4 separate regions of the Homo sapiens genome follow, and regions 1, 2 and 3 are each linked to region 4. Evidence: promoter capture Hi-C in 16 types of primary human blood cells and fetal thymus (Javierre and others, 2016). All regions are on one chromosome and are shown on one strand. Each heading gives the region's core, a stretch centred on a gene start or on the middle of the fragment in contact. The rest is flanking DNA. Distances are from core to core; before and after follow the strand shown.

The links. Contacts are between HindIII fragments. The CHiCAGO score rates a contact against its expected background, and 5 or more counts as called.
Region 1: a contact is called between a fragment that was not itself captured here and the fragment with the promoter of MAN2C1 in region 4, in 1 of 17 cell types (naive CD4 T cells). The highest score is 5.6, in naive CD4 T cells.
Region 2: a fragment that was not itself captured here is called in contact with the fragment with the promoter of MAN2C1 in region 4 in 8 of 17 cell types (naive CD4 T cells, naive CD8 T cells, activated CD4 T cells and 5 more); the score reaches 8.0 in naive CD4 T cells.
Region 3: the fragment with the promoter of PTPN9 here is called in contact with the fragment with the promoter of MAN2C1 in region 4 in 5 of 17 cell types (endothelial precursors, erythroblasts, activated CD4 T cells and 2 more); the score reaches 8.3 in endothelial precursors.

Annotation. Positions count from the first base shown.
Region 1 is chr15:75,507,680-75,510,379 of GRCh38, reverse strand. PTPN9 (protein tyrosine phosphatase non-receptor type 9) reads left to right here. Exons shown (of 13, transcript NM_002833.4): 6 at 1,353-1,463. Among named protein-coding and RNA genes, the nearest start is that of SIN3A, 57 kb to the right of the region's middle. The HindIII fragment of the contact is 346 bases long and covers 1,130-1,475 here.
Region 2 is chr15:75,600,279-75,602,978 of GRCh38, reverse strand. SNUPN (snurportin 1) reads left to right here. Exons shown (of 9, transcript NM_005701.4): 8 at 1,761-1,841. Among named protein-coding and RNA genes, the nearest start is that of PTPN9, 22 kb to the right of the region's middle. The HindIII fragment of the contact is 7,095 bases long and covers 1-2,700 here.
Region 3 is chr15:75,577,955-75,580,654 of GRCh38, reverse strand. PTPN9 (protein tyrosine phosphatase non-receptor type 9) reads left to right here and starts at 1,340. Exons shown (of 13, transcript NM_002833.4): 1 at 1,340-1,941. The coding sequence starts at 1,879. RefSeq lists silencers at 983-1,472, 1,733-2,132 and an enhancer at 1,175-1,773. The HindIII fragment of the contact is 12,332 bases long and covers 1-2,609 here.
Region 4 is chr15:75,367,161-75,369,880 of GRCh38, reverse strand. It overlaps MAN2C1 (mannosidase alpha class 2C member 1), which reads left to right and starts at 1,274. Exons shown (of 26, transcript NM_006715.4): 1 at 1,274-1,398; 2 at 1,683-1,808; 3 at 2,247-2,370. The coding sequence starts at 1,298. It overlaps SIN3A (SIN3 transcription regulator family member A), which reads left to right. Exons shown (of 21, transcript NM_001145358.2): 21 at 1-502. RefSeq lists enhancers at 1,099-1,393, 1,078-1,397, 969-1,501 and a silencer at 1,528-1,607. The HindIII fragment of the contact is 2,518 bases long and covers 1-1,451 here.

The DNA of each region.
Region 1 (2,700 bases), core at 53-2,552, 140 kb before region 4:
CAGTTACTTGGGAGCCTGAGGTGGGAGGATCATTTGAGCCTGGGAGGTACAGGACTCAGTGAGTGGCGATTGTGCCACTGCACTCCAGCCTGGGCAACAGCAAGATCCTGTCTCAAAAACAATACAAAACAAAAACAGAGCAGCCAAGCAAACAAAAAAACTAAGCACTGTGGATTAGGAATGAATGATTTTTTCATCTTTATATCTTGTGTGGATGAGGATATCTCCTTTTTTTAGATCTCATTTGCCATAGTGCACATTAGATTATTGATTGGTAAATACATAGATGAATGAATAGATTAAAAAAAGATTATGCATACATCAGACTGAATGAAAAGTTATGAAAGAGAAATTTTTAAAATTTTTAAATTTTTATTTATTATTGTTAAAATTTTGAGATGGAGTTTCGCTCTTGTCGCCCAGGCTGGAGTGCAGTGGTGCGATCTTGGCTTACTGCAACCTCCACTTCCTGGGTTCAAGCGATTCTCCTGCCTTAGCCTCCCGAGTAGCAGGGATTACAGGCACATGCCACCATGCCCGGCTAATCTTTGTATTTTTAGTAGAGATGGGGTTTCACCATGTTGGCCAGGCTGGTCTCAAACTCCTGACATCAAGTGATCTGCCCGCCTCAGCTTCCAGAAGTGCTGGGATTACAGGCGTGAGCCACTGTGCCCAGCCATATTATTTTTTTTGAGACAGAGTTTCACTCTTGTTGCCCAGGGTAAAGTGCAATGGCTTGATCTCAACTCACTGCAGCCTCTGCTTCCTGGGTTCAAGTGATTCTCCTACCTCAGCCTTCTGAGTAGTTGGGATTACAGGTGTCTGCCACCGTGCCTGGCTAATTTTGTATTTTTAGTAGTGATGGGTTTTACCATGTTGGCCAGGCTGGTCTTGAACTCCCAACCTCTGGTGATCCACCCACCTCGGCCTCCCATAATGCTGGGATTATAGGCATGAGCCACCGCACCTGGTCGAGAAATGTTTAATGTTCAGTTTATTCATGATCTCATTTTTCCTTCAAGTTTTAATAACATAACTTTTTTAAGAGGCATATATGTATGCTGATGTGTGGTATGTGTAGGATATCTGTTGAGATGAGAAGTCAGAATAGTTTTTGATCCATAAAGCTTACGGTAGACAAGAACTTAACATTGTTATTTTTAAAGGTAAATCAGCTTCTAATTTCTTCAGTTTGTTTAACCACTTTTCCTCTAGCTGCTGAGATCAAACCTGAATTAGGCTGTAGACTCCCCCTGCTGGGTAAGAATGGGGAGAAGAGCAGAAAACCTAAACTTGGGCTTGAAGAGTCACAGGTTCCATTACACTTAAATCCTCATGTGTTTTCTCCACAGGGAGCATTTCCAGCTCGTTTGAAGAAGGTGCTGATTGTGGGGGCACCCATATGGTTCCGAGTGCCCTATTCCATCATCAGTCTCCTCCTGAAGGACAAAGTCCGGGAGAGGGTAAGGCAAGCTTGCCCTTTTTTATCTGGAGGTGAATAGATACAGTGAATTCCTGCCAATTAATTTTCTACCTTCAAAAAATCCTCCTGGCGTGTCTTCTAGAGCCTGTTCTGCTTCTGTTAGTGCATTCACTTATATTCTCTACCTGATGCATTAGTCAGTTCAATACAGACTGCCTCTCTTACTGTCCTACGAGCTTCTTGAAGTTCAAAACTAAACACAGTTTATCTGGTTCTCACTTTCTATAGCACCTTGCATAAGATAGTACTGAAGGAACGTGTCCTGGAGGTAACTTAGGGATAGCTGCTACTTCCAAAATTTATCCTAGTGCTGCATAGGCCTTTAATATTTAACAGCTTGTAATATAACTGCATTAGTTGAACTGGCATTAGAATTTGTTCAACTGGAAACATCATTCAATCCCTTGACCACCAGGGTTGTGGAGGAAAGTTTTTCGTTATGTCTCTTTCTACATTTATTCCTGGCATTTTTTTTTCTCAGAATACCTTGTTGCTTCCCAATTTCAAAAGCGTTCAAAATTACTTTAATTCTGGGCCAAGTGTAATGGCTCATGCTTATAATACTAACACTTTGGGAGTCCGAGGCCAAGGCGGGAAGATCGCTTGAGGCCAGGAGTTTGAGACCAGCCTAGGCAACACAGTGAGACCCCGCCGCCACAATAAAACCAGAAACTTTAATTCTGTTATAATCTCCTGCGTGTTCCATGATTAAAAGATTTATGGTCTCAGTTACTGATTGCAGCAATTAAAAGACAGGACATGAAAGTGAAAACATTTGGTTCTGTGGAAGCTGCTTAGAGACCTAATGACGCAGAGTAGGAGAGAGCTTTTCTTTTTTTTTTTTTTTTTTTTTTTTTGAGAGTGTCTCACTCTGTTGCCTAGGCTGGAGTGCAGTGGCACGATCTTGGCTCACTGCAGCCCCGCCTCCTGAGTTCAAGCGATTCTTCTGCCTCAGCCTCCTGAGTAGCTGGGAGTACAGGCGCACGCTACCACACCCAGCTAATTTTTGTATTTTTAGTAGAGACGGTGTTTCACCATATTGGCCAGGCTGGTCTCGAACTCCTGACCTCATGATCCGCCCACCTCAGCCTCCCAAAGTGCTGGGATTACAAGCGTGAGCCACCTTTTTTGAGACGGAGTCTCGCTCTGTCTCCCAGGCTGGAGTGCAGTGAAGCGATCTCGGCTCACTGCAAGCTCCGCCTCCCAGGTTCAAACCA
Region 2 (2,700 bases), core at 121-2,620, 230 kb before region 4:
TCAGTAGTTCGGAGCAGCCTGGGCAACATGGCAAAACCCCATCTCTACAAAAGAAATACAAACAAAAAAATTAGCCAGGTATGGTGATGTGTGCCTATAATCCCATCACTTTGGGAGGCTGAGGTAGGTGGATTGTTTGAGCCCAGGAGTTTGAGACCAGCCTGGGCAACACAGCAGAACCCCATCTCTACAAAAAAATACAAAAACAGATTAGGCATGGTGGCGTGCACCTATAGTTCCAGCTACTTGAGAGGCTGAGGTGGGAGGATCACTTGAGCCCAAGAGGTTGAGGCTGCAGTGAGCTGTGATTGTGCCACTGCACTCCAGCCTGGGTGAAAGAGCGCAACTCTGTCTCAAAAAAAACAACAAAAAACCTGGATCCCACCCCAGACCAGTTCAGTCAGAATCTCAGAGTAGGGCCTGTGCATCAGTAATATTTTTTTTTTTTTTTTTGAGACCGAGTCTTGCTCTGTTGCTCAGGCTAGAGTGCAGTGGCACAATCTCAGCTCACTGCAACCTCCGCCTCCCAGGTTCAAGCGATTCTTCTGCCTCAGCCTCCCAAGTAGCTGGGACTACTGGCATGTACCACCATGCCTGGCTAATTTTTGTATTTTTAGTAGAGACGGGGTTTCGCCATATTGGTCAGACTGGTCTCGAACTCCTGACCTCGTGATCCGCCCTTCTCGGCCTCCCAAAGTGCTGGGATTACAGGCGTGAGCCACCACACCTGGCCAGCATCAGTAATTTATTTTTATTTATTTTTTATTTTTAGAGACGGAGTCTCGCTCTGTCACCCAGGTTGGAGTGCAGTGGCACAATCTCGGCCCACTGCAAGCTCCGCCTCCCGGGTTCATGTCATTTTCCTGCTTCAGCCTCCTGAGTATCAGTAATTTTTAAAAGCTCCCTAGATGATTCTTGTGGATAAAAGAAGGTTGGGGCTGGGTACAGTGGCTCATGCCTATAATCCCAGCATACTGGGAAACTGAGGTGGGAGAATCCCTTGAGCCCAGGAATTTGAGGATGCAGTGAGCTGTGATTGTGCCACTGCTCTCTAGCATGGGTGACAGAATGAGATCTCATCTCTTAAAAAAAAGGGGGAGGAAAGATTGGGAACCACGACCTAGTAGTTAAGAGAGTAAGTAGAGGGGAATTAGTAGAGAAGGATGAGACTGAAAACTTTTCTTCTTTGTTTTTTTGTTTTGGCTTGGTTTAGTTTGGTTTGGTTTGGTTTTTGAGACAGGGTCTGGCTCTGTCACTCAGGCTGGGGTGCAGTGGCACAATCTGAGCTTACTGCAGCCTTGACCTCAGGCTCAAGCGATCCTTCTACCTCAGCAGCCTCCCAAGTAGCTGGGACTACAAGTTTTTCTTCTTTGACAGAGATTTTCTTTTCTTTTTGCTTTTTTTGAGAGGGAGTCTTGCTCTGTCACCCAGTCTGGAGTGCAGTGGCATGATCATGGCTCACTGCAACCTCCCCTTCCTGGGTTCAAGCTATTTTCCTCCCTCAACCTCCCAAGTAGCTTGGACTACAGGCACATGCCACTATGCCTGGCTAATTTTTGTATTTTTAGTACAGACGGGGTTTCACCATGTTGGCCAGGCTTGTCTTGATTTCTTGACCTCAGGTGATCCTCCTGACTTTGCCTCCCAAAGTGCTGGGATTACAGGTGTGAGCCACTATGCCTGGCCTGACAGAGATTTTCAATTGCTTGGGCCAGTATCATTTATAACGTACTAATTCCTTGTTCTAATTTCTATTTCAGTTTAAATTTGTGGGGCTAAAGAACTTCCCTTGCACTCCCGAAAGCCTGTGTGATGTGCTATCTATGGATTTCCCTTTTGAGGTAACGAAACCATTGTCTTTATTGCCTTGACATGATGATAGGCTGCAGAGAGACTTAGTTACACAAAGTCTTAAAATATTCCTTGATTGTGCTGTGTCAAAGCATCAGAATGGGACAAAGCTGATTCTGGAGAAAGGATGTACTTGCTGCCCTTCAGAGCCTGAGCTCCACCCATGCTGGATAAGTCAGAATGCTGGCACTGGAAGGGCCCTTAATGGACAGCTCGTCCAACTCCCTCATCTTACAGATGGAGAAACTGAGGTCCGGAGAAACTGAGGCCCAGATAGGAGCAAGACTTGCATGCCTAGATCCTTCTTGTGTGCCTCTTCCTACTGCAAGCTGAGACCCAGGTCCCTGGTTTGGCTGTCGTGGCTGCTTGTAAAGTGAAGGTGCTTCTGTGACTGAATGACTCCAACAAATGTCCAAATCCCTAATCCTTTCCTCACCAAAGAAGATGGCCCTTGGGGACAGCAGCACTTGCTGAGCAGGAGCATGAGTCAGGTGACCACCTCATTCCAGTTTGCTCAGGACTCGCCCTGTTTTAGCACTGAAAGTCTCACAGCGGCTGGGCATGGTGGCTCACGCCTATAATCCCAGCACTTGGGAAGGCCGAGGCCGGTGGATCACTTGAGGTCAGGAGTTCAAGACCAGCCTGGCCAACATGGCAAAACCTCGTTTCTACTAAAAATACAAAAATTAGCTGGGCGTATTGGCAGATGCCTGTAATCCCAGCTACTCGGGAGGCTGAGGCAGGAGAATCACTTGAACTTGGGAGGCAGAGGTTGCAGTGAGCCGAGATTGAGCCACTGCACTCCAGCCTGGGCAACAGCACAAGACTCTGTCTCAAAAAAAAAAAACA
Region 3 (2,700 bases), core at 91-2,590, 210 kb before region 4:
CCCAGCTACTTGGGAGCCTGAGGCAGGAGAATGGCGTGAACCTGGGAGGGGGAGCTTGCAGTGAGCCGAGATCGCGCCACTGCACTCCAGCCTGGGTGACAGAGTGAGACTCCGTCTCAAAAAAAGAAAAACAAAAAAGCCAGGCGCGCGGTGGCTCACGCCTGCCTGTAATCCCAGCACTTTGGAAGACCGAGGCGGGCGGATCACAAGGTCAGGAGTTCGAGACCAGCCTGACCAACATGGTGAAACCCCGTCTCTACTAAAAATACAAAAATTAGCCGGGCGTGGTGGCTCGCACCTGTAATCCCAGCTACCCAGGAGGCTGAGGCAGGAGAATCGCTTGACCCCGGGAGGTGGAGGTTGCAGTGAGCCGAGATCGCGCCACTGCACTCCAGCCTGGGCGACACAGAGACTCCGTCTCAAAAAAAAAAATAAAAAAAAAATCATAGGAGCATCACAACTCACAGCACCTTCCTGTTGTCTGAAGGCCCCTCCTTTGGGTCCCTCAGGACTGGCTCCAGGGCTTCAGCCTTGGAACTAGTTGTGGACTTTGGGTCCCTTTGGAATATTTATCTTTGGCTTGGAATAATGCAACAACGTACCAGACCCAGCCTTGCCTTCTCTATGCCCCATTCCTCCCCAAATGACTCCAAGACTGTACCCCTAATCCTGAACCCTTTGCTGCACTTGCCCTAGTGAAAATCAAAGGTCTGCAAAGGCCGCGTCATTCCTGAATGATGTTCGGAGTCTGATGTCGTTTCTATGGGGGATTAAAATTAGCGACACTGGAGATGAATTACAGGGTGCAGCCAGTAAGGAGGGAGAGAGAGGGAGGCAGGTGCGATTCCTTCCACCTAAGCATCCTGGCCTGGCAGGCAACCTTTCCAGGGTCTTTCAGGCTGCAAGCGACAAATAGTTGAGGATTGTGGGTTTCTCACGCGTAGGTGGCAGCGGCAAGTTAACCCCAGGAGAGGTGCCAGTCAGCAGATAATTTGCAAACGAACGTATTCTCCTCCTCCTCCGAGGATCTGAGCCTCACGAAATACTCTTTTCTTCCTTTTTCTCCCTCCCGCAGTCGAGTTGCCTTCCGTCCAGCTAGGGTCCCCTCCCCGCCCGGGTCCCCTCCCCCTCCCGGTCCCCTCCCCCGCCCGGGCTCCTCTCTGTCTCCCCCTCCCGGACTGCGTCCTCGCTCCGCCGGGCCCTCCTCGCCGCCAGCTTGTGAATGAGACGCTCAGTTTCTCAATGGAGCCGCGGGGGGCTCGGGCGGCCGCGGGGCGGCCGCAGCGTTGGCCGTGAGTCAGGAGGGGGGCGCGTTTCCCTCGCTCCCTCTCCACTCCCTCCCTTTCGCTGCGGCCGCCCGCGAGGAGCCTGGCTGAGGCAGCCGCGCAGGTCGCAGGGCCAGCGTCCGCGAGGACGGCCCGGCTGGGCGGCCCCGAGCTCTGTGGCGCTGTGGAGGAGCGGGAGCGCGGCCGAGGAAGCGGGGCGCCGAGGGGGTCGGCGGCCTTCGGGAAATTTCCGCCGACCCTTCGCTCCCGGCTCTAAAAGTTCCTGATTTCCTATTTCCTTTTAAATCCCGAGTGGCTGTTAGCTCTTCGCCTGCACTTTTTCTTCCCCAGGAGATAAGGGGGAGTGTGAGGAACGGAGCGAATAATATAAAAAAGGATTTCCTCCCGGAAGAGAGCGGCAGTTCGGAGAGATTTTTCTTAAGGAAGCAGAAGCGGCGTTTGCGGCCGCTGCAGGCGCCGGGCCCTGCCGGCCACACTATGCGCGAGCCGGCCCCGGGCTGCTGAGGCGCGGGGACGCGGAAGCGGAGGCCGAGCGCGCCGGGCTCCCGCGCTCGCGAGCGAGTTTTGTCCGCCCGGCGGCGGTGGCGGGGGGATGGAGCCCGCGACCGCGCCCCGGCCCGACATGGCGCCGGAGCTGACCCCGGAGGAGGAGCAGGTAAGCGGGCCCGAGGCCGCCGCGTTGGGTGTGTCCGGGCCCCCGAGGCCTACGCCGGCCTCTGCCTCCCGAGTGCCGGCTCTTTGCAGCCACGGGGCCGCAGCCCCCCGCTCCCGTGCCCGGCTCGCGGGCCTCCCTCACCGGCGACCGCGCCCCAGGCCGCCACCCCCTCGTCGGGGGACCCACGGGACCCTACTCCCGTTCCCGCCGCTTCTTTCGCCGAGGCTTACCAGCCTCAGACGGTGCCCTCCGCACCCCACCCCCTATTCCAGGGGCAAAGTTCCTTGGATCCAGGGGCCTTCTTCCCGAGATTTGCAGAACCGCTGCTTGCCCCCGGCCCTTCCACTCCCTTGTAAATGTTTTCCGTGAGGGTTTGTGGCTTTTGAAGGGCAGGAAAAGCCCCAGTTTGGGGGGTGCTTCCTGTGGGGATTATCTCCCTTCCCGAGGAGAGGGCTGAGAGTATTGGATGCATAGATGCCCTAGATTTTCAGAGGAGCCTCTTAGGTTTCTCAGGCCCACTTGGGCAGGTTATGGAAGATCCAGCCCTTCTCGTGTTCCTAAAGTCCCTGGCCTTGACCCCCCTATTCAGCTATCCCAGACGGGGCGCATCTCCTCACCCGCGCTTCCCTACCCTCGTCTCATCTGACTGTCTCCATCTTTCTGAAGCTTACATTGAGCTCTATTGTTCCTTAAAAGCCTATGACCTTTAGTTTTCAGAAGGAAGTGGTTTGCTGTCTCATTTTGGGGGCCCTTGTAACT
Region 4 (2,720 bases), core at 25-2,524:
AAAGCTGGGGCAGTGTCTGACTTGGCGGTGGTCATGTGTACTGATTTAGGGGAAAGATCTTGAGGTTTTCTCAAATAATTCACCTATCCCCGTGTTCCCTCAAGAAAGGTCATGTTGACCTGGAACCATAGGGGAAATTGGTGGGGTGTGATCAGGGTCAGCCCCAGCTGTTGCTGCCCCTGCAGTGTTTTGTCCAGAGCACTTGCCTGCAGGTCAGGATAGGATTTCAAGGCCAGTTCAGGAGAAAGTCCCAACCCACCAGTGCAACCAACAAAAGAGTAAGTTTTACCTACAGCCTGGGTTTTCACAAGTAGCATTTTTATTCCTCCTGCTGTCTGACATCTGAGCTCCAAGCTCTAAACCCAACCTGTATTATATGCAGCAGCAGGTTATCTTTGTTTTAAATCACATTTGTTATTCTGTACTTAGTCACCTTTCCGTGTGATCTGCATTTGAAATGTTGTAAACTTGGTCAGTATTTCCATTAAAATATCAGGGCTAATCTTGTGTATTTTTTTTTGTTCCTAATGATTTTATAGACAAAGACTCTTGGCAACCCCAGGAGAAAAAAAATAAAGCTGTCAGTGGAGTACTAGGGATGAGAATGAAACTGGAGGTCTGTTTCTGGTATTATGGCTTCCCGGGACTCTACAGTCCTGTATGGTGAAATACATTTTTCCATTGGGATCGTCAATGCCATGACTGTTCTGCCACCTCAAACTCCAGAGTTTCTGGTGATGTGCAAGAGTTAGCAATATACATTCAGTAAAGCGTGTAATCGAGTAAGTCGTAGTAACTTGGGCGTAAAGCTCTACCACCCTGCTCACTAACACCCTGATCTCCGTCCGGTATGAAAACACCTATTCCGGGTAGTCTGGCTCCACGTTAAGCAAACACCACTTTCCGTGTTCACCGACAGCTAGAGCCAGAGGTCTCCCGGTTGCTGCTTCTGAGGCTGGGTCTGCAGCAGCTGAGGCTCCCGCCTGTCTTGCCGAATGGCCTAAGTCTCTGTCTTGAGACTTTCGAGAGTTCTAATCGTCAAATTTCCCATTTTATTTTGAGATTTTCCCTGCGGCCCACTATTTCGGACAACATAGGAGAGCCTCAAAAACAGTTTCTAGCTTCCAACTCGGCTCAAAGTTCAGACAGCAGCTGGGCTTCCGAGAGCCGCCGGTGTTCCAAGAAAAGCTGCCCGGGACTGGGAGGCGCCCTCTGGACGCCGGAACCTTTGGTTTCCTGCCGTGGAGCGGAACGGTAGCGCCAGGGGCCTTCCGGAAAGAGGAGCGAGAGCCCGGCGATGGCGGCTGCGCCGGCCTTGAAGCACTGGCGCACCACGCTGGAGCGGGTGGAGAAGTTCGTGTCGCCGCTCTACTTTACCGACTGTAACCTCCGCGGCAGGTGTGGCCCCTGGTCCCCCGCAGCCGGCCGACCGCAACCGTGCGCCTCAAGCTTTCCTTCCGGGGAGAAACCTAAGCTGCAGCCACCCGGGCCGCGGGACAAAGTGCCCGCCGCGGGCAGGGCAGGGGCCGGGGAGGAGGGGGTAGGGAATGGACTGTGCCGCGGAGCGGCCAGGCAGCCCTCTTGGCGGAGGATCCAGGGAAAGTGCGGCCCCACCGGCCAGCTGGCCCCCAGGCGGAAACGGGGCGGCCTCCAGCATGTGCCCACCGGCCCGTCCCACGCAGGCTTTTTGGGGCCAGCTGCCCTGTGGCTGTGCTCTCCAGCTTCCTGACGCCGGAGAGACTTCCCTACCAGGAGGCAGTCCAGCGGGACTTCCGCCCCGCGCAGGTCGGCGACAGCTTCGGACCCACGTAGGTAACGCCCAGCGGGTGGGCGGGGCCACAGGCCTAGGGGAAGTCCCAACCCAGCTCCCAGCCACACCTTCGTTGTCTGCCCTCTGCCGTAGACAACTACGTGGGATCGAGCAGCACCCTCTGCTGGGAGCAGCACCCTCTGCTGGGAACAGCTCTCTGGTCCCTGGGTCTTCAGGGGATGGTTTTCATTCCCACGTGGCCGCCTCTGGACATCCCTTAGGAAGGGCACCCTAGGGATCACGAACCTTTGACGCCTCTGCCTGTTTCCCTCATCTTGCTTCTCACCTTGTTGCTCCTTTCTTGTGACTCAAAGCTGAGTACCTTGTGACACTGCAGATGCTTGGAGAGTTTCAAGCCCCTGCCGACACTTTATCCAAGGAAGGATATCAGGATAGGACTTCTACCTCTAGGCCTATCACAACAGCTCTCTTGCAGATGGTGGACCTGCTGGTTCCGGGTGGAGCTGACCATCCCAGAGGCATGGGTGGGCCAGGAAGTTCACCTTTGCTGGGAAAGTGATGGAGAAGGTCTGGTGTGGCGTGATGGAGAACCTGTCCAGGTGAGGAACCCTGTCCTAGGGCCAGGTATGGCCACATTTCAGCCCTGAAATGACTACAGCCCTTCTTCTGTGGACTCTGGAGAAGCCACAGCTGAGTTGCTCTGCCCACAGGGTGGTATCAGGATTTCAGGACTAGGGAAGTTGCCACTTGGGCATCTGTGCAATTGGTCCTTAGTTTTTATTGTGTATAATACAAACTTATAGGAAAACATTTCAAACAGTTCTAGATAAAGTAATGGATCTCTCCTTATCACCCATCCCATTCCCCAGCTATAACCACTGTTAAGTGTCTTATTCATGCTCCACCCTTATCAGGTTTAGTCCTTATACTCCTATCTAGTAGGTCTTTA